Linked DNA regions of Homo sapiens: regions 1, 2, 3, 4, 6 and 7 are each linked to region 5. Evidence: promoter capture Hi-C in 16 types of primary human blood cells and fetal thymus (Javierre and others, 2016). All regions are on one chromosome and are shown on one strand. Each heading gives the region's core, a stretch centred on a gene start or on the middle of the fragment in contact. The rest is flanking DNA. Distances are from core to core; before and after follow the strand shown. Region 1 overlaps WWOX (WW domain containing oxidoreductase). Region 2 overlaps WWOX (WW domain containing oxidoreductase). Region 3 overlaps WWOX (WW domain containing oxidoreductase). Region 4 overlaps WWOX (WW domain containing oxidoreductase). Region 5 holds the start of MAF (MAF bZIP transcription factor). Region 6 overlaps WWOX (WW domain containing oxidoreductase). Region 7 overlaps WWOX (WW domain containing oxidoreductase).

Region 1 (3,688 bases), core at 1,110-3,609, 880 kb before region 5:
GAGCTTTGTCTTTTCTTGCTGAATAAGAAGCTGAGAGGGAGGCAATTGCTGTCACTGGTCCAGCCGGCTCAGCAACTGCACATTTGTCAAAGTTCTTCATCCCCAGCTTTGTGATTCTCTAGGTTATTCATTCTTCTGGGATCGTAGATGGCCACCACAGGTTCACTGTGGAAAGAGGGGTAGGAATTTTTACCAGCTGGGTCTGACTCCACCCCACCCCCACCCCTACCCACCGTTTTTTGTTTTTGTTTTTTAAGATGAAGCCTCACTCTGTTGTCCAGGCTGGAGTGCAGTGGTGTGATCTTGACTCATTGCAACCTCCGCCTCTTGGGTTCAAGCGATTCTCCTGCCTCAGCCGAGTAGCTGGGATTACAGGCACATGCCACCACACCCAGCTTTTTGTATTTTTAATAGAGACAGGATTTCACTATGTTGGCCAGGCTGGTCTCGAACTCCTGACTTCAGGTGGTCTATCCACCTTGGCCTCCCCAAATTCTGGGATTACAGGCATGAGCCACCGTGCCCAGCCGTGTCTGACCATTTTATCAGGAAAAGCAAAAGCTTTTCTAGAATCTATCAACTCCCTTCTGCATGTGTCTATTTGGCATGGGCTGTGTCACATGACCCCTGAGCTGCAAGGAATGCTGGGATACGATGGAAGCCTGCCAGAGGTAGAGCCTTGGGAAGGGCTGATAGGGCCTCTAACCTAAATGTCCACCACCAGAGGTATTACAGAGGTTTGAGCAAGAAATTATGGTGGTCCCAGGGATGATGCATTCTGATAATCATTATCATCAAGAGGAATGTCTAAAGGAAAGGGGAAAAAAAAAATCAGACAGTCACATTGAAATGAGGTCCTTAAGATAGGCCCTAATCCAATATGCACATAAAGGGGAATTTTGGGCACAGAGACAGAGGCAGAGATAGAGGGAAGATGATGTGAAGAAAAACATAGGGCCGTGTAGAGGCAGAGGCAGAGATTGAAATTGTGCTATCATGAACGGGGGAATGTCTGGGACTGCCAGAAGCTCCTGAAGGCAGGAAGCATCCTCCCCTCCAGCCTTTGGAGGGAATGTGGCCCTGTTGACACCTTGATTTCAGACTTCTGGGTTCCGCAACTGCAAAAGAGTACATTGCTGTTCTAAGCCACCCAGTGTGCAGTAGCTTTCTGCAGCAACCCTAGGGATGAATGCTCCTGCCAAATGCTGCCTGCCCTTCAAGATGAGTGTTATTTGGCAGAGGAAGATGATGCACTGCTTATTTTAGGGGATGCCCTCACTTTTGGGTCCCTATGTCACCTGTGTGTACTCCATGCCAGTGTCTTCCCAGCCCCTGCCAGGCAAGTTCGTGTGGTTCTGTGATAACCCTCATCTCTATAGGTTCTGTGATAACGCTCCTCTCACTGTGCTGCTCCTTGGGTGACATCACACCCAAGGAGAATCATGGGACCACCTCCAGAGAGATTTTCTTAGAGGTGTGGAACAGAAAAAAAAGCGTCTCTATTCGAATTGCAGGATCTTCCTTATAGTCCTGGAGAAACGTGGCCCAGCATTGTCTTGGTCCATAGCCTGAGCTTACCCTCCCTACGCAACCACAGCTGTGTGCAGCTTCAGCCAGGTTTGCTTTACCTGATCTCACTGGCTTCATGTTTATTATCTTATTTTCAGTTTCAAAAGGGCATATCCTGCCCCCTTTCCCAAGATCAGAGGATAAGGAATGTCTTGATGTTCTCAGTCGTAAAATTAGGCTAATAACACCTCCCATGGTTGTCTGTGAGGACAACAGAAAGTAATGTTTTCTCTGAAAAGTTTAAAAGGGTAAATGGCTTCATCACATGGTGATGACAGTGATTATTCCAAGAGATGGCTGTAAGCTCCCTGAGAACAGAGGTGCTCTGTGTAAATCTAGTCTGTCTCCCCAGGCTTAGTGGTTGACCTAGACTATACCAAGAGTAAGTGTGTTTTTTAAATTTAATTTAAATCAATTCATTAAGCATTGCTAAATTGGAAAACCATGGAATATAGAGATCCAGTAGTTAAGAGCCTACTGGGAGAGACAGCATAATAATTACAATAAGTGCAGAACTTGCAATAATGTAATTGAAATAATGTAATACAATCCTGCTTAATATTACACTGTATATATTCATTGACTTATAGACTGAGCTCCTTATCTTGTTCATTGCTATGGCTTTAGCACCTTTTGAACAGTGGTGCTTGGCTTTTGGTAGGTGGTCAACAAATGTGTATTAAGTATATGAACTGTTGGAAGGGTCTGCTGTGAAGGATGTGATTTGCTCTCTTTGATGGTGGACAAAGAAGGTTTCCTGGTGGAAGAGATTAATGAGTTGGGTTTTGATGAATGAATAGGAGTTTCCCCAGACACACGGAGGAGACAGAATGGAATGAAAGAGGGGTTTTCCAAGAAGAGGCACTGAAGGGCAAGACTTCATTGCTTCTTTGATACTCCAATGCCGGCTTCCTTTGGGTTGGACTCTGATGGATCTAATCGAGGATTAGGATGGAGGTAGGTGGGAACATATTTAGAAGGATGCCCTGTGGTTTTTCTCCTTCCTGCTATTTATATTTCCCTCTCTGTCTTTCCCACCTGTTTGGTGATGAGGAAGGAGCTGTGTACTGGTTTGAAACCTATTCACGACATAGTGGACCCAACACCAAGTGTCTTATTGTAAATGGATCCACTTTTACTACAGTTACTTTAATGGCATCTAAATGATAAATGTTAATAAGCATTTTTGCTTGGGAAAGCACAATGGTATTAGCCTGCCAGACTGCAAACGTTATTTGCTTTATGGAAGGGGATTTCAAACAAGGGGTTCTGGTGGTTGTATTTTTGCCTCAACGGTTATTTATAGAGAAAGTATGGGCCATTGCATGTTTATAGTATCTCTTTTTTATGGCTGCCCAAGTTATTATTTTTTATTGGTTTGGGTACTTAATTTGCACATTTGTAAACAATTATGTAGTTACACAGCTGTTGTACCACAGAGACCATATGCATTTCCATGTTAAGAGAAAAGTCCGTGAGGGATTCTCACTGGATACCATCATAAAAGAATTATTGTGGTGCCAAAAAAATTTAAAAAAACGACTAGCTCAGAAGTTATCATTGTGTTTTTATAGTATTTGGAGTTAAATAAATTTAATGTTTTTTTGCTCACTTGAGTTGGAGCCAAACTTTATAACTGAATAGGAGGGTTCTCTTTCCCATATTTGAGTAGAACACATGATGTTCAATAAAAATGAATTTGCCAGTCAGAAAAATTTATCTTTTAGAAAATTAATACACTGAGCCAAGCATGGGTGGTCCATGCCTCTAATCCTAGGTACTCTGGAGGGTGACGGTGGGAGGATCCCTTGAGCCCAGGATTTTGAGGCTACCCTGAGCTATGATCACACCACAGCACTCCAGCCTGGCCAACATAGTGAGACACTACCTAGATAGCTTAGGAGAGTTCCAATGTTTCTGAAGGATGTTTTTTTAAAAGAAGTATTCATTTAGGTGACACATATTTATTGAGACACTAATATATGCCAGGAATTATTCTATTGGTTCCTTTGGAGGAGACATGAATAAAGGCATGGATGTGACTGAGGAGGTAAAGGTGAAGAATTGGGGAGGGGTGGATGGGGCTGACTCATGACCTAAAGAACATGGCATCTGGGGC
Region 2 (3,743 bases), core at 336-2,835, 700 kb before region 5:
TTTTGTTTCTTTTTCTTGTTTTAATGCACTGGCTATAGCCTGTAGGACAGTGTTGAACAGAGGTTTTGAGACAGACATCATTGCTTTATTCAGGACTTCTCTATTATATGTGATGCTAGTTGTATGTTTTCTGTACCTATACTTCATTAGATTAAGGAGTTTGAATTTATTTCTAGTTTGCTGAGAGTTCTTTTATAAATGTGTTCATATATATATGTTTTATATTTTTCTTATTCTTACTATCTGCATATTAGAGGGAGTTTAGCTCATTGGTTAAAAGGATTTGTTCCGGAAACCTAACTCCAAATCTTTGAACTTCCTAGAAACCTGGCCTGTTTATTTACCCCGTATGTCACTTTCCTTTATCTGTAACTGGAAAATGTGTACGAAGAGCTTAATACAATGACTGATACACAGTGAGTTCTCCATAAATGTTAGTTATTATTTTAATATTACAGCATCTGTGGAAACAGTGGGTTTATATTTCAGCGTCCTGAGAAACACTCATCCTGAACAACGGGAACATTGGCCACATCCGCCATTGTCAATTTTAAATAAAAGATATGATGACTAGTTGGTGAGTTGATCTTGTAAGACTTTTACAGATACCCAGAACGGCTCTACTTCTTCATATTCCACTTTTTAGTTTTAAAAGTTTAAGGAGATCTCTGTGATCCCTGAAGAATTGTGTGCAAAGCAGCATTAAGACGAAAATCTTTTATATTTGTGTTGTAGCTTGGAAAACTAGCGCGTGGTCTGTTTTGTTCCACTGGCTCCTAAGGTTCAGGTATTAACATAAATACAGCCCATTAACACTTGTTCCTCTCTGTCAGGACATAAATTAAGTCTGCAGGTGTTCCATGAAGCTGTACCCTTGGTACTAATTAAGCCTTGATAATTAGGTTTGTTAAATTCAGGACTTTAAGCTTATATTCCCTCCTTGGGCTACCAAAACGGAGATGTGCAATATACAAGCCCTCCTGACTTTTTTTTTTTTTTTTTTTTTTCCTGCAGAGAGCGTTGCTGCTCCTTCTCTATTTTATTTCTTTATTACTGTTTTTTTAAATGAAGGAGTCAGTAACAAACCGTTCATCATTTTGCCAGAGTAGGGTGTAAACCTTCATGCAGACCTGTACATTTGTTTATGACGAGATTAAAGTCTTTTCTCCTCCTGTTTTGTGTCAGCTCAGACACTGAAGGGGAAAGTTTCCAGCCTGGTTTCTCCATACACTGAACATGTTGAAATCTATGCCTTAAGCCCAAATGAGCTGTCACTCAAGTATGCACGCTCATATTATTAAAAACTGTGCATGTAATTTGCTGGGCACCCAAATAATTTGTTTTTTATTTTTCCTTAAAAATGAGACTTTCTGTTAGGAAAGTGATTCATGAAACAGTGAAGATCCTGCCTCACAACTTTCAAGAAACCCACAGAGGTCCCTATTCACATAAGAATTTTCTAAGCAGAGGTTCCAATTTGGATATTTCGTGGCCTTCAGGTTATTTGTAACCAGTACACAAACCACAAAGTCATAATCAGATAGATTTTCTTTCCAGCCTGTCTTTCCTCTTTGGTTGCTTTGTAAATCTATTACTCATCAGATCATATGTTTGGCAAATGCCACTTTTCATTTTGAATCAATGGAATCATAAAAAACAATTCTACTAGTACCACTTTCAAGAATATTCATAGTGGTCATGCTAACGTAATAACCTCTCTTTTTTATTTGAAGGATATTAAATAAAATTGTACTTTTAATCAGAGCCTTTTTTTGAAAAAAAAAAAAAAGAAAAAGATAGTTGATATTGTGGGAGATGGCTACAATACAGATTCATCCCATATTCTCTTTAATGTTCTATTCCCAAGAAGAGCACTAATTAATCTCTCTAGAAGGGTACCACAGTTTCCATGAGCGTTCATATTTTGAAGTTTCCAAGAACATGTTCTACAGAATGGACCACTGCTCTCTTTTCAGACCCAACCCTTGTATCAGAGTTTGCACACATCTAGAAGTTCCGGTTCTCCCAGTCATTACCTTTCTCCTTCAAGCTGGGATTCAGAGTCCATTTTCATAGGGCAAAATGCAGAGTTCGGGTTCCTTCCTATCCATGAGAGTAGGTGCTGAAGGAGATAAAGGAATGAAGACATAGACTTTGAAAGCAATAGTCTGGCAATCATCCAAAGGTTTGTGGGAGGACAAAAGATCACAAAGTATGTGTTTGTGAAAATAAGACTATGTCATGAAAGCTTTAGAATATCCAACACATTATAGAATATTTTCACGGAAATATTTCGGATGGAATTTTGGCTTTAATTCTTTCTCTTTTTTTCCTGTTCTTTTCCCTCTCCCCACAACCACTTCTGTTTCATTTTCTGTTTTGCTCCTTCTTTTCATAAGTAGCTGGTAGTCAGTGTTCTCTTTTTCTTCCTGTGAGACAGGATCTCCCTCTGTTGCCCAGGCTCGAGTACATTGGTAGGATCTTGGTTCACTGCAGCCTGTGCTTCCCAGACTCAAGTCATCCTCCCACCTCAGCCTCCTGAGTAACTAGGACCACAGGCATGGGCCACCACGCTGGGTTAGTTTTTGTATTTTTTTGTAGTAACACGGTTTTTTCATGTTGCCCAGGCTGGTCTTGAACTCCTGTGCTTAAGCGATCCACCTGCCATGGTCTCCCAAAGTGCTGGGATTACAGGCGTGAGCCACTGCGCCTAGCGAGGTAGTCAGTGTTCTAAACACTGGTGTACAATCCAAGTCTGTCGCTGCCCAGGATAGAGGAGGGATGACGTGAATTCACACGGGCCTCTCCTACAAATCTGAGTGTACATCAAGTGAGGGGCGTCCCTCCGCACCTCACTGTTGGGCTGATCAATCCCATTCCCACTCCATTATGTGTGTATTTCTAAGTGGCAGATTTGCCTTAGGAAATGGAAGAAGGGGATGAAATAGTGACCAACACAAATTACTGGGTTGGCGGGAGTTGAGAGCTGGCAAAATCGTCTTGGAGAAGGAAATGGTGCAGATTTCAGAGCTGGCAGACAGCATCTACATCCACCTCTGCAGGAAGCAAGGGAAACATTTTTCTTCTGGAGAATCGGGCAGCCTGCAGCTGATCCGGTGGTGTCTGAAACCATCCTGTGTGCTGTAGTGTCAACAACTTAGCCTGGTTACTTTGCCACCAAACCCCACCAAATGCCTTTGTATCTTTTTCAGAACTGCATCTCTGCAGCATAATTGATATTACAGGAATGAAAAGTGTTCTGAGGCATATTATTCCCAGGGTAAAGAGTCACCGCTGATTAATTACCTCAAGGACAAGGGGACGGTGACTTTTTCTCTTGTATCCAGCAGCGCCACGCGGGGCGGGCGGGAGAGGCAAGGCTAAGAGGTGGATGAAAGGCTAGGGTTAAGGCATTTCACAATGTCAGGCATCTTGTTAGACTGCGGCTTTCCAGGCCTTCCCCCGTGACTGCTGCGGGGGCCTAGGCCAAAGATATGCCCGAGTAGAAAATCTGACACCAGCTTCCCAGTTTTCTCTTCTGCTCTCTTTGGCTGCAACGCTTTTACCATGGGTAAACCATTAGGCCGGCTCTGCAGGGAGGGCAAGACCACAGCAGCTCAGTATTTCCTGCTCAGGGAAAAAGGCCAGGTCTTTTGTTGGTGGAAATCCACTTTTCCATCCACTGTCTTCTAAGAATGAAAGTAAATCTGTTGTGCTTTCCTCTGCCCTGTCCTCAGGCTTAG
Region 3 (3,811 bases), core at 270-2,769, 910 kb before region 5:
CCTTTAAGGAGATTTGTTTCCATCAATCCCTCCCATTTACAAGGAATTACAGAAGAGTGATGCCCCCTTCAAAGTGGCTCACACCTGGCTGACATCTGTTCATTAAGAATGCCTGCCTTTGGGTTCTAAGACGTCCAAGGAGCTCTTATGGGTAACACCTGTAGATTTATAGACGTTCCTCTCTGACTGTAAGGGCCATATGCCTGAATCTCTCACCCCCATGTTTATAAAACTTAACAATTGTGGAAGCAATGAATTGAAGGACTAGGGTCACCAGTGGAGTCCCATAAATAGGTTGTTTATGATCCCTGTGAAACAAGAAGACCCTCTTAATTTCATGCTTCTTAAACTGGGGTATGAGTGGCCCCAGGTTTCCCTGTTGGGGGTACTGATACCAGAGTTCATTTGAAGTCATTGGAAACCAAGGCATATTTTCTTAAAGAGACAACTGTTTTTGGTGAATAGGCCATGTTGTTTATAGTAAAAACAAACATGAATATTCTGTAATAGAAGATATCGTTTGCATGGTGTTTTAAAGCTAAAACTTGAGTTATTAAACACCCTTCTCTCCCTGGGGATGCCTTTTGCTATGGGGTTGCATCCACGGAAGAGTTTGAAAGCCCAACCATATGGACATCATATTATTCATTTTTATTTGCCATCCAGAGCTTGCCAGCAACCTTTTAGATCTCTTTCCTTGGAAGGTTCAGCAAGATGCTTGTAAATGTATGTTGCTTTGTTGCAGACAATGTATATTTAAAAAGCAATTATTTGCCCATCTCTTGTTCAACTCAGATATTGACTGCCTTTCTGTATTTCTGGCTGGGCATTGTTTATCTCCACCTCATGGTTTTTACTATGGTTCTAGAGGTCTAGCCTACAAAGAGAATGCTTCCCGTCCCCACCACTACCCACAGGACCCTCTGCATATCTCAGAGGAATTTCTCAGTGTTCCAGTTAATTTTCTCTCTGTTTCCTTTATTACTTCTAAGTTCCATTGCAAAAATATGCTGCCTGCTCTGTCAGCCACCCTATATGCCTATTTAGTCCCAGTTTTCCAGCTTCTATTTTTTTCCACATAATCCCTAACCATGATAATACAAATATAATAGAAATAATTATGTTTGTTTAAAATATACACAGAACCAAATAGTCATAGAGTAGTATTTCAGGTGGGGGGCCCTCCTCTAGGGCAGTGGAGACAATGTCACCTGTCGGGAACATTTGGCAATGTCTGGAGACATTGTTGGTTGTGGTGCGGTGACATAACTATTGGCATCGAGTGGATGGAGGGCAGGTGTGCTACTAATCGCCCTCTATTGCACAGGGTGGCCCTTACCACAGAGAACTATGCAGCTCTAAACATGCGCAGCCCCAAGGCTGAGAATTGTTGATCTAGGGGAAGATGTGATTTCATTCTTCATGCTTGTAAATTATTATTTAAGCTGTGAATACCCTCTCTTTTCCCACTGAAGTTGTGGTTGTAAGATTCTCAGAGTTAAGCAGACTCGGCAACATTACAGAAAAAAAATCAAGATGTAAAAAGGATTTAGACGTCTGGACGTGGTGGCTCATACCTGTAATCCCAGCACTTTAGGAGGCCGAGGCAGGTGGATCGGTTGAGGTCAGAGTTCAAGACCAGCCTGGCCAACATGGTGAAACCCTGTTTCTACTAAAAATATAAAAATTACCTAGGCGTGGTAGTGTGTGCATATAATCCCAGCTACTCTGTAGGCTGAGGCAGGAGGCAGAGGTTGCGGTGAGCTGAGATCGCACTACTTCATTCCAGCCTGGGCAACAGAGAGAAACTGTGTCTCAAAAAATAAAATAAAATAAAATGGATTTAGAAATGGTACAGTCAGAGGTTAGGGGTCGGGTCAAAGCGATCCCCCCAGAGACCTGTGGAAAGTGTGGTTCTGTCTACAAGCTGCGACCATGGTCTTTACTGCTTCTGCAAATACTTGACAAAAAGGGCCACACTCTTAGCTGGACTTTTCCTCCCTTTCCTGAAACAATGCCCTTCCCATTGTCAAGGCAGAAGCAGCCTCCACTGAGAAGCGTCAGACACCACGTCAGTCTTGCTTTCCATTGCTTTGCTCCAGTATCCATTTGAAATTCAGTGCAAACCCATAAATTCCACTTTGCCTCTGGTAGCAGCCTGCATGGTGTGTATATTGAACACTAGAAACACAGTAAATCCAGCCCATTTATTCACATTAACCAGCAAAGGCATTCTGCATGCCCATGTAAATACTGGAAATTACTGACATGGCCTTCTAGACCATGAAAAGACAGAAGCATATGGCAGAATTCATATGTGAACAGATTGCTTTTTCTCATAAGAACGCTTTATTGGAATATCAACTATTACAGCTTTTTGAAGTTACTCTTCCTGCTCTTGATTTAAGTCCTGAATCACCCCACTACTCTTTTTTTTTTTCCGCTGCATTCTGCTATGTATCTTTACATCTGCTTCCTGCACTTTCTAAATGGCCTACTTAAACCTTGAGGTAGGTCCTTCAGTTTCCCATAAATTAATAACACATCTATGAATATTTCCCAGCCAGTCTTAGAAGCCCCAGTCTATTCCAATACCAGGATTGTAAACACAGGGAATAGATGAAGCAAGCTGCTTCTTTCAAATGCTCTTCCAATATGAAGCAAAATATTATTGATCTAGACTGCCTGCTACTTTCATTTACCATGTTACTACTCGTGGGATTACAGGCACAAAGGTTTCATAAATTTCAAATGAAATATGAACATTTGTTGTCAAAGTACTGTTAAGGTATGAAAACCCTGCTAGTATTAGTTCCCTTTTGTTATTATTCTATTATTATTATTATTATTGTGTTTACATCCACAGGCAATCACATATTTTAGGTTGTGGGGAGCAAAGCAGCTTCCCCCCACTTTTTCTCTCACTCCAATTTGAATCCTCCCATATGTCCCTCCCTCATTTTTTAAGCAGGAAACAATGAATGAGTTTTTGCTCCTCTTGCCCTATTTGCCGTGTCTCTTTTCTGTGATTCGGGAGCACATTGATACCCTTCTTTTGGAGCAGAGAAGCTTGTCTTTCATGATAGAAGTAGGTCATGGGGGCGGTTAGCTGACTTCATCAGAGAGTAGCATGCAGATCCCACCTGTGAGGCTATGGTCTGCCAAGGAGAGTTCAGCGGGCTGGATCAGAGAGAGCAGAGCCATGCTGGCAAGTCGGAGTCTTTGTGGAAAGCAGCCAAGGTCACAGCTGGAAATAAAACTGTGTATTCCAAATCAGAGGGGCAATGCAGGAATGGATCAAAGGAATGAAGGATCAAGTTGTCAGCCAAGAGAACCAAGAGCCAGACACAGGGAACCTGTGACAAAAACGAAAACCAATAAAAACATATATTGAGCATTGACCAGGTGCCCAATATTTTAATGTCCCATGGGTGTGCATCAGGTACGCTGTGGAAGGACAGATGTCATTCCTTAAAGGGGCTGCACTGAATTAGACCAGGGGTTCTCAAAGTGGGGTCCCTGGACCGGCAGCATCACCATCACCTGGAAACTTGTTAGAGATGCAGATCTTGGGCCCCGCCCCAGACCTCCTGAATGTGAATCTCTGGTGGGGAGGGAGACGAAGTGGGAGCCTGTAGGCTGCAGTCTGTGTTAAGCTTTCTGGGTGATTCTGATACACGGTCAAGTTTGAGATGTAGCAGGAGAAGCAGGAAACATAGGAGAGAAGCCACTAGGGGTGGGAATCAGAAATACGGTGTCCCTGCCTACCTAGGGGCTACATTCCTCCGGGCAAGTCTTTTTAACTCTCTCT
Region 4 (3,269 bases), core at 550-3,049, 840 kb before region 5:
TATGGGGAATCATAAAAGCACCTACTTGTTAAGGCATATTAAATGCAACGCTACTTTGAAGGACTCATGGTAGTTAACACCCAGTTTGGTAAGTGTTATTATTGAAGGCTGAGAACAGAACGACAAACAACAATCACAACAAAAGGCTGGGGAAGATTTTCCTGGTGGGGGGACCAGATGAGCAATAGATCTCCATATGCAGAGGGGTAACTGAGTACGACTCTGGGACTTACACTAGAACATTCATATTGCAATAAAGCAGATTTTTCCTGAGCACCTACTCTGTGCCAAAGCACTATTGTAGGCTGTGGAGATAGGGAGCTGAAGTACTGAAAGCGTTACAGTCAAGGGCCAGAAAACCATTGTTCAAGCAGTTGGCGTATGGCTTGATCTGTGTTTATTACAAAGCGATACTTTTCCTTCTAAGTACTGCTTTACCTGCATCCTGCAAATTTTGGTATGTTGTATTTTCATTCTCATTAATTCAAAATATGTTCCAATTTCCCATGTGATTTCTTCTTCGACCCTCACATGTTTATTACAGCATTTACTTGTTTCTGTTCATCCAGAACTCATTGAATACCTGCTATCTACCAGGCAGTGGCCTGGTCACATCTTCTGACCTCAAGTAGTTTATAGTCCAAAAAGACATTGGCTCTTTGGGATAGAGGCACTTTTTGGGGGAGAGAAACATGAATGCAATTTTTTACATAGAGTATGAAACTCTGTTCCAAATCTCTCAAACTCAGGTTCTTTGATTCTTAAGGTATTTTTCACTGCCGAGTTGCTGTCATTGAAACAAAATCTGTCCTGGTCACCACTGTATGCCCAGCACCTAGTACAGTGCCCTGAACATATTAGGTACTCATTAAATACTTGTTCCACGAAGTTGTTATTTGGTATTCACGAGTTTTGTCTCAATTCCTTTTGATTCTTCTTTTCACCCATCTCATGTTGACTTAATTTCTCCAGCATTCAGTTAAGACCTAGCCGAAGCATAATTGTCAGCATAGTAGAGCTGGCTCTCCTCTTTCTAATTGCCCTGCAGAGTTTTTGGGGAGTCTGTATGCAATTGTGTACACCCCAATGCCCCAAAACCCTCTTCTATTTCCTTTAGCACTCTTGAGCTGAAGAAGCCCCACTCTCCCTCTGCCCCACATCTATTGTGGGCTGGGATACATGTTGGGCCTCTGCCCAGATCATGCTTGGAGTGGCACCAGCTGCGTAGGATATGTGAAATATTTGCTCAGAGAGATCCAGAAGGGTTGATGTGAGTAGGATCAGCTGGTGCTCCAGGATAAAAATCGTGTCACCACTTTTGCCGAAAAGTCACTGTGTTTCTCCTGTACTCAGCAGGTTACAGGGTGCCATATTGTTCTCAGTCTTCCGGCTCTACCCTGTTTTGAAGTGCGGCCGGGTGTTGTTAAACGGCTCCGCCTTCCTGCCAGAATTTCTCCGTGGGGAGGAGCTGCCACCCAGTCCAGTGAGTATGGCCTTTTGGTCAGCATTGCAGAACCTGGCAAGTCCTAATTCCCTGTGAGCTTGACACAGGAGGCCGCCTCCTCCTCCAGGCCCACTTGGAGGCATTCTGTCCTCTTGTTGGAAGGGAAATTGGTATGGTAGGGAGGTGCTTCTTCTGGGAGTGGGTTTGTAAAATTAAGACTGTTTTCATCCAAACCAGTTACCTGTTTGTCTAGAACCTGTGTTCTCTGCTTTCTGCCTCTTGTGTTGACATTTCTCCTTTGGCCTTCATCTGTTACTCGCTCACATGTGCCGTGCCCCGGGTGGGTTTGGAAGCCATGCTGCTATGGTTTGATTCCTGGCTTTCCAACATTACCTTTGATAACCAAGACAAGTGGCAGTCTAAGCCTCAGTTTCCTCATCTGCAAAATGGGTGCAATTCTAGTACCTCCTTCCTAAGGCTGTGAGGATTCAATGAGGTACTGCTTGCAAAGTTTCTAGCACAGTGTCTTGAACACGGTAAACAACTTACCTAGGTCTGATCTCATTTGATATTGTTGCTCATAGCAAAGGTTTGTTGAGTTTACTATGGATATAACACTTGTTCTTTTTTAAAATAACTTTTAAAAACGCAAGTGTTGAATTATCTGCATTGTGCCTTTAGGGCATACACATCTGCTTACAATATTTTTTGAGCTTTCAGAAAACTTAAGATATGGTTGAGGGATGCAGGAAGGAACAGGACAAGAACCCAGATCCCTGCCCAACAGGACAGTGGAAGGGAAGTCTCAGCATCTCGAAATGAGTGCCTGGAGAGGATGGGTGGCGGCTGTGCGGGGATGTGGTAGGGTGATGGTCCTTGAAGGATGCTGCAGATCACAGTGGCCCCACAGTGTGGGGATTGGGGTGGGATATGTGACAACAAAGGCATCCCTGGCAGAGGATCCAGCACGAGCAAAGGCAGAAAGTCCAGGAAGTGTCAGGAATGAGAAGAGCCCAGTAGAGGATGGGCTTAGGGACAGTGATGAGACCTTCTGGTAGAGGCGTTGAACACTAGGGTGAGGGCTTTGCTCTGACTTCAGGAAGCAGGTGAGAGGCCCTGAAATTTCCACGTAAGATTCGGGGCCGGGCACGGTGGCTCATACTTATAATCCCAGCACTTTGGGAGGCTGAGGCGGGTGGACCACCTGAGGTCAGGAGTTCGAGACCAGCCTGGCCAACATGGTGAAACCCCATCTCTACTAAAAGTACAAAAATTAGCCAGGTGTGATAGCGGGCGCCTGTAATCCTGGCTACTCGGGAGGCTGAGGTGGGAGAATTGCTTGAACCCGGGAGGCAGACGTTGCAGTGAGCCGAGATTGTGCCACTGCACTGCAGCTTGGGAAACAGAGTGAGACTCTGTCTAAAAAAAAAGAAGAGTTGGATCACAGCAAAGGTGAGCTTTAATGAGTTCACTCTGGCAGTTGTGCCGAGGAGGGACTGGCATGGAGAGAAAACAGAGGCAAAAATCACAACCTCTGTCAGAGAACTCATCGCACTATTTCTGTCCTGCCCTGGGATGGTGGAGCCTAAGGGAACAGAGAGGACAGAGTGGGTGGCACAGGCATTGCGGAGGCAGAAATTTACGTGGCTTCCATGCCCATTGGTGTGAGGAGTGAGGGGTGATCAGGGATCCCAGTGGCTTGAAAGTATAACAAAAGTATGACTAGATCCAGGAAATACAGCTGGAGAGACCCAAGTCTGCACAGAAAAGGTTTACAGAGCCCAGGCACACAGATGACATGAGCAGTTCCAAAGGAGTGGGACGG
Region 5 (3,663 bases), core at 1,121-3,620:
AGGCTTCAAAGGTGATCAACGTTTCACATGAAGAACTCTGCTGAGATCATTGAACATTGTGCAAGTCCGGGGGTGGGGCGGGGGGGTGTAAAAAAAAAAAAAAAACAAGCTAGCAAGTTATGGAGAATTTCAGATTGGCAATCCATGAGCCAGACACCCATTCCCTCCCCAGTTTAAAACAGCCACCACCACCACAAACTCGAGCAGGGTGTGGGGTGTGTGTGTGTGTGTGTGTGTGTGTGTGGTGTGTGCGTGCGGGTTTGTGTGTGTGTAGGGGGCCAAGGGGGCCAAACTCGGTGGGGGTGGGGGTGGTGAGGTGGTGGCGAGCATGGCTCTAGAACTAGCAAGCCCACACCCGAGCCGGACCCCCGCGGAGCACTTATCAGGGTGGCTAGCTGGAATCGCGTGTCAGACTCACATGAAAAACTCGGGAGAGGACGGGTTGTCGCTGCTCGAGCCGTTTTCTCGGAAGCCGCTGCTCACCAACTTCTCGTATTTCTCCTTGTACGCGTCCCTCTCGCGCACCAGCCTGGAGATCTCCTGCTTGAGGTGGTCGACTTGCTGCAGCAGCTGGTTCTTCTCCGACTCCAGGACGTGTCTCTGCTGCACCCTCTTGAAGCGGCAGGACTGGGCATAGCCGCGGTTTTTCAGGGTCCGCCTCTTCTGCTTCAGCCGGATCACCTCCTCCTTGCTGACCCCGCGCAGCTGCCGGTTCAGCTCGCGCACAGACATGGTCACCAGCTGCTCGTCGGAGAAGCGGTCGTCGAAGTGCAGGCCGCCGGCGGCGTGGTGCGGGTGCAGGGCGCCCCCCGCCCCCGCCGCGCCCCCGCCGCCTCCGCCGCCGCCGCCGCCGCCGCCGCCCCCAGCGCTGGCCGGGCCACCGCCGCCCGCGCCCCCAGCGCCACCGGCCGAGGCGGCCGCGCTGCCCGCGGCGCCGGGCGCGCCGGCCGTCGGGTGGTGGTGGTGGCCGGCGGCGTGGTGGTGGTGGTGGTGGTAGTGCGGGCCCGCGCCGCTCTGCGCGGCGGCCGCGGCGATCACGGCGGACACCACGGCGGCGGCGGGGCCCATCTCCTCGCCGCTGCCGCCCAAGGAGGCGCCGGCACCGGCCCCGGCCGCCGCGGCCAGCTGCTGCGCCCCGCGCGCGTAGCCATCGAAGCCGCCCTGGAGCTGGTGGCTGTTGCTGATGAGCGCCTCGACCGCGTCCTCGGGGCTGAAGCCCAGCGCCTCGGGGTTCAGCTGCTGCGGGTAGCCGGTCATCCAGTAGTAGTCTTCCAGGTGCGCCTTCTGCTCGCTGCCCGAGCCCGGGCTGGGCGCCGAGAAGCTGGGGGAAGGGGGCACCGAGCTGCACGGCGTGCTCATGGGGGTGGAGGACAGCGAGCCCCCGGCGATGAGACGGCCGCACTGGCTGATGATGCGGTCGGTCTCCACCGGTTCCTTTTTCACTTCAAACTTCATCAGATCGAAGTCATTAACATATTCCATGGCCAGGGGACTGGTGGGCAGGTCGGAGTTGCTCATTGCCAGTTCTGATGCCATTCTCCTGCCGCCGCCGCCGCCGCCGCCGCCGCTCCGCCAGATGGGCTGCAGGAGAGGGGCCAGCGGGCTGTGCTGGGTGGCCAGCGGGTGAGCCAGCTTGCCGGGCTGGGGCGCTTCTAGCTTGCGCGGCGGTGGCTGGCCCGAAACCTCCGAGCGCGCTCACACACACACCCCCCCGCCCTGCCCGCGCCCCCCGCGCCCGCCCTCCCTCCCCCCTGCTCACGCCAATGTGCTCCCTCGCTCGCCCCGGCCCCTCCTTGCTCGCTCGCCTCCTTGCGCGCCGAGCCGGCGGCTTCAGGCTCGGGAAGATCCTCCGCGAGCTGCGGTGGCGGCGGTGGTGGCTGCGGCGGCGAAGCTGGAGGAGCCCGGCCCGGTGCGCGGCGTCCCCCGCTCGCCGCTCCGCTGCGCGCTTTGCATAAGGAAGGGCTCGCCTCGCCGGCCCGGGCTGCAGGCAGGGCGCGCGCGGCGTCCGCTCGGGGCTGGAGGCGCGGCGGGCGTCTGTCCGGGCGGCGCGGGCCTTGGCACGGGGGAGTTAACACTTCATGCTTCTCGCCTCCTCTTCTGCTTGGCTCTCTTTATTATTTTTTTTCTTTCCTCTCTCTCCCTCGCGCGCTCTCTACCTCTGTGCAAAGTGCAAGGCAGAGGTGCAGCCCGACTGGAGGAGAGGGAGGGGGGAGTTTAGTTCTTTCTTGCCTTTTTTTAAAAAAGCAAAATAGCGAAGTCCTGGGGAAAGACGAGGCAGAGAGCAAAGGGGGGAGGGGGAGGCCAAGCCGACAAGCAGCCCGAGCTACAGCTAGAAGATGAAAAAAGATTTTAAAGCCTCTGATCCAGCAAGAAGAGTTTAAAGCAATTGCTGAGTTTTATAGCACTCGTGACGTCAGGTCCAAATGAGAAATTGACTGGCACTCCGGGCCAATGGGAGGCGGCGAGAGCGGCCGCGATTAGCATAATAGTATAGAAACAAGGAAACTTTTCGGAGCTGTCAATCAGGGCCCAATCAGCTGACTGTCAGCTGGGACGGGCTGGCTTAACCCTTCCTGCGCCGCTGCCTACCCGGGAGGGAACGAGGCCCGGCGCAAAGTTTGGTGTAAGAGGGGAAGGAGTTTTTCCAGAGGGGCTTCGGCAATCCGGGCGGACCTGGGAGGGCGGTTTGCTTTTCTTTGGAGCGCGAGACAGGCCTCCCATCCGGAGCCCCAGCTCGCTGGGGGCTCACTCGGCTGGGATTGGCCTGATTCCCCTCCCCTGCCTGCCCTCCACCCCCAGGATTGTGAATTCGCCTCCCAGCTTTTCCTCCTCGCACCAACTCTGGTACCCAGGTGTCTGCCGGGGACCTTCCTTCCCTGAGCCTGGCCGTGCCCGGCGCTCAAACTTGGCCCCAACTCTTTGTCCGTCTCTCGGGCGCCCGTGCGGGGAAGGGACCGGGAAGGGAGGGATGCAGTGGGGTGTCCGGATCGGGGCTGCGGGCTGGGCGCCGCCCGGCCATGCGCCTGCCCAGAAGGCTGGGCATCCGTGGAGAGGGAAAGCCCATTTTATCCCTCTCTTTACAACGAGGTAAAATAAGTTGTTTAGAGGCCATTCTTCACGGAGACCGGCTGCCCGCTGGCGTCGCGTGCCCTTGGACAGAGCGAGCGCCTATGCGAGATAACTCCGGGGAAGCTCAAAGTCAGGTCAGCCGGGCTCAGCCTTCCGGCTCCTGACTGGCCGGAGTTTGGCCTTTGAGACTCATATTGCGCGCTCGCTCTCTCTCTCTCTTACACACACACACACAAACACACACACACTCACACTCACCCGTCCCCTTACGAAATCTGACCTCTGTTTATCAGGGTCAGGCGCGCCCTTTGCACTTTTACGTTTCCTTTAATTATTTCGGACTTGATCGTGGCAGGGAGCAAGGGGGAAAAACAATACCCCAGCCCTCACCAGCTACCCTCGAAGGGTTAAATTTTAAACCGCGGTTTCTGGAACTAGTCCGGAAACGCAGAGTGGGGGGTGGGGTGGGGGAGGCTGCTCCCCCCACCCCCAGTTGCAAATGCTAATAAGTAGTTCAAATTTCTAGATTGATTCTCTAAAAGTTTATGCAAAAAAGAAATAAAAAAGAAAAAGAAAAAAGAAGGAAACCAACAA
Region 6 (3,367 bases), core at 148-2,647, 660 kb before region 5:
TTCTTTCGAAGTCACATTTTTACATCATTTCCATCGACATCCCGTGTTCCATCTGCTTCTTAATCCATTAGTACCTGAGTGGGGGTATATAGGTTTTCTCAAATGCTCTAATCTCCACAGAAGTTAAAATATCCCTAAACAGGCATGTGCACATATGTCTTTCTTTCTTTTCTTAGGTTAACTTTTTTTTTTTTTTTCCTTTTGAATGACCACAAAGCATATCTACCCAGCGGGGTTACTTTTTTTTTCCCTTTCAGTATTCATGACGTCAAGTCCCTGTTTGTTATCTTATTGTCCTCTTATCCTGGTCCTTAGAGTCTTTCAAGAGAAGAGGTTGATCCCGGTGTAATGTACAGCTTCATTCTAATAAGTTGTATCGATCATGTATTTTCAGTCACTCTTCATGTCTATGCTGTCCATTTGCTTGGATCCCAAGGAATTTTCTTCTGCCCCCCCACCCCATCCCACTCATATTTCATAAGGGTCTTCTGGAACCTGCATGGTGTTGGGATGTATATATCACTTTTCCCTTGTTATGACCAGAAAGACTCACAGCCATGAATTTCACTGAAGTTTATGATTGGTCCCTGATTGCCTCACATCTTGCAAAGAATCCTCTTCTAGAAAGCGTTCTTGCAGTTAGATTAACAAGCAGATATACTGAACTGGTGCATGAATGAATAGGAAATATCCCAGTTGCAAAGGATAAATCTATCATGTAGTGGAGAGCGTGTTCAGGCAAAACATTTGGTTCTGCGGTCGCTTGGAGGATTGGGCCCGTGCTATAATTAATGCCACTAGCAGTAAAAGGACATTAGGGATGTCGCGCATGTTGATTATTTCTTCATTTTGTTTATCCAAGTTTCCCCGCCTTGGAAGCTCCGTGGCCATTGCCAAAGAAAGCCCTGGAGACAGAGCGTTAGCCGTTGCTCCTCGTAAGCGCATCATTACCTTCCTCCGAACAAAGTCCTTTTTTTTTTTTTGTCAGTAGAGGGTGAAAACATTATTGGATTCAGGAGTTCATAGTAGTCCTGTATGAAGCTGGGGACGGGGGGATAGAGTTATGAAATGGACCATTTCAAATGGCATTATCTTCCCACAGTGAGGTACACCTTTCATAAATCATAGGAGAGTGCTCAGAAAATAGAGCATTTGTTATTCCTGCAGTACATTGTATTTGCATCCCCCCTACTCACAGGAAAGAAGAAATTCTCAGGTTTCCTTTCCCAGGTTTGAAAAGGCAGTTAATCGCCTTACAATGAAATTATATTTTTAAAAAAGGTATCATAATCAAATAAAAGAAGTACTTCATGTAAGTCAAGGATTGTGCTTTTACTACTATTTTTTCTTTTTTTGTAATCATGGTGGTTCTTTTTGCCCACTTATTTAGGCCTTAATTTAATTACGGCGCTGATTAAGTTCTTTGGTTTTATTTTTTACTGTAAACATTGTGCTGTATTCCGTAGGAAAATGTAGATGAATGTGGGTCATTGGGAAATAAAGTGGGTGGAAGTATTGGCGAGCATTTCTTTCCCACTCTCTACCTCGCCTGGTCTAGCCGCTGATAGGTAGTTACTCTTTAGTATGCCCAAGTTCAAATTACGTATGACTGTGATTCTAACACGGAAGCGCCCTCCTTTTCTAGTAGCTTGGATGTGATTGGTATGGAGAAGCAGAGTGGGTGCGTCTTTGTGTGTTCTTGACATAGTTAAAGAGTTTGGTATAGTCAATTCCCTTTAAAGTAGTAGGCTTCTTAAATAATTCTAGTTGTTCCTCGTGCTGCCAAGCCATCTTGAAGAATTTTTCTTCATTTGTAAGGGGTTAAAAGTCATCAAGCTGATTGAAAAGTCAAGAACCTCTAGCGCAGCCTACCCCTTGCATATTTGATACTCTCTTTTGCACTCTCGGGAGCAGTTTTGAGGACACACTGTAAAAATGTATGACAGCAGTTTGAAGATAAGTCTGTTGCCCCAAATAATCATAAGAAGAAGACAGAAGAAAAATTGATTCCCGTAGCTCTCTGGGCAGTGGGATGGGGGTAAAGCAAGGAATTAATAAAAACCCACCAGAATACATTATTTCAGACAATCAAGGAGAGCGTTACATTTTAAAGGTACTTCATCTCAGAAAGTTTGAGACATACTTTTCACACGTGGCATGAAGAGAAAATGGAATGGAATGAGCACTAATGAGGACCTTGAACTTAACTAACTGAACTTGATGGTCATCGCAAGACATAGGGGAGAAATATTTTGAGACATCATTGTGCAGGCAAACATGAGCAAGAAATTGAGAAATCCGTTCATGCACTTCTCTCTGGTTTCCCGGAAGGGATGAATTCCAAATCCCGTGGCTCAGGTCCTAGGTCAAAGACAGCTCTTTAGAAAGAGATGTTCTTTGCTTCTTTGCTGACTGCCCATCCCCTCCTCTCTCTCAAGGAAATAAGATATTCATTTGCAAGTAAATAATGCAGCAGTCTTGGATTTGTATCAGATCAACTTTGAATGAAAGCCTGCCTTTCTGCGTTTATTTTTGCTTATCTCTCCTGCTTCTGCTTCCTGTTTTGTTAAATAAGGGCAATGACGGCAACTATTTTAAATTGCTATAAAGTTTTAGCTAGACAGCGAATCAAGGTGGCAACACATGGTGGGTTCTTAAATAATAGTTGTCATTTGAGTGCTTTCTATATGATGTACATTTCATTTTGCACTTTACAAATAACCTCTTCCTTTTTCTGTTTAATCTTAAAAAAGATCCCGGGAGGCAGGCGTTATTGTGCCCATTTCCTGGATAAGGAGAATGAGGTACGCTAAACGAGTAAAAAGCAACCCGAGATCCAAACCCTTTGGCATTCAAGATTACACTCTTATTCACTAACTGTTCATCTCCTCCGACTGCATCGCCACTCCCCCAGGCCAGATAACCCATCCAGACCTGGAGAACTCCTAGAGGGAGAAACAGGGAGGACCCAGGCACATAAACTTGCAGAGCAGCTGAGTTATCAGATCTTCCAAGCCATGGGGTTATCGAGCTTTATCAGAGCAGCCTTGCTCTTGCAGTTTCTGACACATCACCATTGATCAGTCCTGGGAAACAAACAAAATAGAGGGCGATGGCTCCACTCTGTGTGGCCCCGTCAATGGCCTGGACGCAGCTGAAAAAATCCAGAAGAGTGTAGGACACTGGAAAAGTAGCAGGGTGTGCGATTGCAGGGATGGGACCAGCAGTAAAAGGTAGCCCTGCCAAGACCATTAAGCTTCCTGCAACTCCTTCTGGATCCCACAATTTGAAGGGGAAATCTTTCCCACCGCACATCACTGTTTGGTGGACTAAATGGCTCCCCGATGTCCCGAAAGAGCACAGCTTC
Region 7 (3,758 bases), core at 744-3,243, 610 kb before region 5:
ATGTCTCCCTGCATCACAAACCAAAAGACGAGTCAGTTTATAAGTAGGCTGTGCTTATTAACTCAGTCCTGGCTTTATTGATTGCTTTAGGTTCCATGATCTTTGGCATGTGAGTGGTTTTGCTTTGTTTTGACAATGATCTTTTTGTACCTTGTATCGGGTAGGTTGGAATGTGTTTGAAAATTTAAGAATATTTTCCTAGCAAAGGCAGGATTTTTCAAGTTTGTTCATGCTGGAGCTCCTGCCACGTATTTTGTCCTTTTTTCTTTTTTCTAGCAACTCTCGAGAGGATGAGACAAATGGATTGTGAAACTGGAAGGAGGGTTTCTCATTTTTTAATCCATTGTTTTAGTGAGAGTTTAAAGCTTTCCTATAAAATATGTGGGTTGAGAAAAATTGGAAAAGACCTCTTCAAGGACTTTCCTCTATGCTCCCTCATGTTTCAAGTGGCTTTTTTGCATGATGGTGCATATGTCTTTGTTTCTGTACAGGGCCCTCCATGTTCAGAGGCAGAGTAACGTGAATTCATTTCGCGCTAATGAGAGTTGCGATATGTCGGCCCAAACTCTCTGTGTCCTTTTCTTCTTGGGCTGATGAACTTGTCAACTTTTAAAAAATGTGCTCTCCAAAAATTTCCAGCAGGACTTTCCCACCTTGCTGTTTAAACAGTGAATCAGCCCTGTGGGCTTTGCTGCTTACAACATGATTCCGGTGAAACCACAGGTCTCGTCATGTCCCTTCTGTATCCATGGTAGTCCCAGTGGGAAAGAGGTAACAAACCCAAATTGAGTAATTTCAAGAAATTTTAATAACAAAGGGGCTATTTTATAAAGGGGGGGTGGTCAAGGTGTAGGGAAACATAAAAGAGAGCGAATTTCTGGTCTGGTGCTGTGGGTCACGCCTGTAATACCAGCAGTTTGGGAGGCCGAGGCTGGTGGATCACCTGAGGTCAGGAGTTTGAGACCAGTCTGGCCAACATGGTGAAACCCCGTCTCTACTAAAAATACAAAAACTTAGCTGGGCATGGTGACAGGCATCTGTAATCTCAGCTCCTCGGGAGGCTGAGGCTGGAGAATCACTTGAACCCGGGAGGCAGAGGTTGCAGTGAGCCAAGATCACGCTATTGCACTCCAGCCCAGGCAACAAGAGCAAAACTCTGTCTCAAAAAAAATAAAAAAAAAAAAAAAAGAAAGAAAATTAATTTCTCAGAGGTAGTAATAGGGGTGGCTGTCACCATCCTTGGCCAAGGAGAGGGAGCAGATACTGGAGACAGTTGAAGGTGCCAGGATGGAGAAGACTCCTTGGAAGGAGCTGTAACCTTTGGTTGAGGAATTCAGCCTACCACTGGTAATACTCCCTCTCCCCAGGAGAGGTCCCAGCGGAATAAACATCCCCGCCCCTTCAACTCTTTGCCATTGTTCAAGCCCTGCTAGAAACCAGATGGCAAAAGGAAGTTACTGATGTGTTCATATTGGTCAACTTTTTCAGGCACGAAGACCAGTACAGAAGGATGGAAAGTGCATTTGGGTAGGGAAATGGGAGATTCCTGCATAGCTGTCAAGTTAGTTTCTTCCCAGAGAGAAAGACCGGTGGCTGTAGTCTGTGCCCCACTCCCAGCCTGTCCTTTCTCAGCCGTGGCTTGTGTGCATCCCTGGGGCCAGCATGTTGCTGCGAGCCCCAATCGATCAGTGGAGAAACGAGCTCTGGTGGGCAGTCAGGCAAAGCAGATACACGTGCTTCTTTTCAGCTTTGTTGGAAGGTTTCATTTTGCTTCAGGAACTAGGCAGGAGAATTCCTGAGTTCCTGTACAACCTGAGTTCTCTGTTAAAACAAGGAGGAAGTAATCATCCTGAGTTCGATGATTCAGAGTAAGCCATTTAACTTGTAGAGCTTTGGGACTAACAATGATCCCTTTTTGGAGTCCTTAATTACTAAAATTATCAGCATATTTAGAGTTCTGAAGATGCTGAACCCTTATTGTATCTCCCCAGGGTTAGTGAGTAATTGGGAATAGTGTTCCATCTTGGATGCCCCCATCCACTAACCATCTTTCCTCTTCGGGTGGTTCTAAGAATTCTAATTCAATTAGAAGGCCTTCTTTTTAGTTTGATTAGTTCAATATCAAGAGCTAAATACATTAGCTTATATATATGTCTGATGAACTCATCTTTGCTTCCTTGGATCCCCAAGATAGAATGGCCCTGATGCAGTCAAACCACCCTGCAGAATCTTAACAGCACCACAAATATTGCATCCAGGCATCCTGCCCATGCTGGCTTGCAGGCTGGGGATCCCTGTCCATAGCGCCCATGGCTCCACCACCAGTCAAAGGTAGTGGGGCCAGCAGTGGACTCCTGTGTGGTTCAGCTCTCAAAAATGTGAACTGAAAGACACAGAAAAAGACTTGTGTTTGGGGATAAATACTGAGACTGAGCAGTCTTGTGGATTCAGGAATTGGGCATCCAGTTGGGACCCTTTGCAAGAAGGGTGTTAGGGAGCAGAGAGCATGAGTAAGCCAGAAGCAGAGCAGGAGAGAGAATGGAGCAGGTGTGCAAAGAGGGCGGTGAGATGCTGAGAGTAATGGGGCTGGCCCAGGAGGAAGTGAGAGGAAGCAAAGTGAGACAGAGGTGGTGTGTGAGCGTGTGTGTGTGTGTGTGTGTGTGTGTGTGTGTGTGATTGAGAGAGAGAGAGACAGATGGAGGGAAAGAGAGGCGGGGGATTCCAGGTACAGTGGCTCATGTCTGTAATTCTAGCACTTTGGGAGGCCGGGGCGAGCAAATTGCTTGAACTCACGAGTTCGAGGCTAGCCTGGGCAACACGGCAAAGCCCTCATCTCTACAAAAAATACAAAAATTAGCTGGGCTTGGTGACAGACGCTTGTAGTCTCAGCTACTCGGGAGGCTGAAGTGGGAGGATCTTTAGAGCCCAGGAAGTCTAGGCTGCAGTGAGCCATGACCTTGCCACTGCACACCAGCCTGGGTGACAGAGGGAGACCTTGTCTCACCAAAAAAAAAAAAAAAAGAGAGAGAGGTTGAGCTCAACTGATCAGCATCTCAGATTAAGGGCCTCCATTCCCCCCATGCTTTGTAATTGCTGCCTGTTTTCCATGAAGCCTGACTGTGCATTGGTTCTAAGTCATGGGCTCTGCAAGATCCTCCTTGTGCCTTGAGAAGGGCCCTGTCCGCAGCCTGAGGAGCCTCAACTGTTCTCTGCACGACCTAGTTCTGGGCTAGGGAATGGCTGTCTAGCTTCAGTGGATTTCCAGAGTCCGGAGCTACTAAAGGTCAACAGCTGTGTTACTGCAAACTCTGTGGCCTGCATTCTATCAATGCCAAAATGCACATCACACTGACAACAGCTCTTTGTTTACACCGGGGAGCCCCCAAAGCCCCAGGGTAATTCCATCACCACCCAAGTTGTAAGATGGTAGAGCGAACAGGCCAGAATGTGATAAAGTAAAATGAAAGAAGAAAAAGGAGGAAGGAAAAAGAGAGAGGGAGAAGCACATAGAGGAAAGAAGGAAGAAGGAAGGAGGAAGGAGGGAGGGAGGGAGACAGGGAAGGAAGGAAGTCTGGCAAGAGGGCACAGTCAGACCTGCCAGGATCCCTCTGCTGTCTTAATCAAGCTTTGCCTCAGTCTTTCTGGACTGAATTTGTCTCTGTGTTCACTTGGCATTTTTTAAAAGGAGACAAAACAGGTGATGAACACAGCATGAGTGATTTTTCCCTTAAGAGAGAGGTGTCATGCTGAGAAAGAAG

What was found. Contacts are between HindIII fragments. The CHiCAGO score rates a contact against its expected background, and 5 or more counts as called.
Region 1: a contact is called between a fragment that was not itself captured here and the fragment with the promoter of MAF in region 5, in 1 of 17 cell types (M0 macrophages). The highest score is 5.1, in M0 macrophages.
Region 2: a contact is called between a fragment that was not itself captured here and the fragment with the promoter of MAF in region 5, in 1 of 17 cell types (M1 macrophages). The highest score is 5.9, in M1 macrophages.
Region 3: a fragment that was not itself captured here is called in contact with the fragment with the promoter of MAF in region 5 in 1 of 17 cell types (M1 macrophages); the score reaches 5.2 in M1 macrophages.
Region 4: a fragment that was not itself captured here is called in contact with the fragment with the promoter of MAF in region 5 in 1 of 17 cell types (M0 macrophages); the score reaches 5.2 in M0 macrophages.
Region 6: a contact is called between a fragment that was not itself captured here and the fragment with the promoter of MAF in region 5, in 1 of 17 cell types (monocytes). The highest score is 8.4, in monocytes.
Region 7: a contact is called between a fragment that was not itself captured here and the fragment with the promoter of MAF in region 5, in 1 of 17 cell types (M2 macrophages). The highest score is 5.5, in M2 macrophages.

Annotation. Positions count from the first base shown.
Region 1 is chr16:78,715,248-78,718,935 of GRCh38, forward strand. The region is part of intron 8 of WWOX (WW domain containing oxidoreductase); the gene reads left to right. Among named protein-coding and RNA genes, the nearest start is that of WWOX-AS2, 220 kb to the left of the region's middle. The HindIII fragment of the contact is 3,600 bases long and covers 560-3,688 here.
Region 2 is chr16:78,899,073-78,902,815 of GRCh38, forward strand. The region is part of intron 8 of WWOX (WW domain containing oxidoreductase); the gene reads left to right. Among named protein-coding and RNA genes, the nearest start is that of WWOX-AS2, 400 kb to the left of the region's middle. The HindIII fragment of the contact is 1,322 bases long and covers 925-2,246 here.
Region 3 is chr16:78,692,396-78,696,206 of GRCh38, forward strand. All of the region lies in intron 8 of WWOX (WW domain containing oxidoreductase), which reads left to right. Among named protein-coding and RNA genes, the nearest start is that of WWOX-AS2, 190 kb to the left of the region's middle. The HindIII fragment of the contact is 3,096 bases long and covers 1-3,067 here.
Region 4 is chr16:78,762,813-78,766,081 of GRCh38, forward strand. All of the region lies in intron 8 of WWOX (WW domain containing oxidoreductase), which reads left to right. Among named protein-coding and RNA genes, the nearest start is that of WWOX-AS2, 260 kb to the left of the region's middle. The HindIII fragment of the contact is 4,674 bases long and covers 1-3,269 here.
Region 5 is chr16:79,598,367-79,602,029 of GRCh38, forward strand. MAF (MAF bZIP transcription factor) reads right to left here and starts at 2,371. Exons shown (of 2, transcript NM_005360.5): 1 at 419-2,371. The coding sequence starts at 1,536. LOC101928230 (a long non-coding RNA gene) reads left to right here and starts at 2,521. Exons shown (of 3, transcript NR_188556.1): 1 at 2,521-2,623. RefSeq lists an enhancer at 2,286-2,580. The HindIII fragment of the contact is 16,856 bases long and covers 1-3,663 here.
Region 6 is chr16:78,940,493-78,943,859 of GRCh38, forward strand. All of the region lies in intron 8 of WWOX (WW domain containing oxidoreductase), which reads left to right. Among named protein-coding and RNA genes, the nearest start is that of WWOX-AS2, 440 kb to the left of the region's middle. The HindIII fragment of the contact is 3,714 bases long and covers 1-3,254 here.
Region 7 is chr16:78,987,182-78,990,939 of GRCh38, forward strand. The region is part of intron 8 of WWOX (WW domain containing oxidoreductase); the gene reads left to right. Among named protein-coding and RNA genes, the nearest start is that of WWOX-AS2, 490 kb to the left of the region's middle. The HindIII fragment of the contact is 3,260 bases long and covers 364-3,623 here.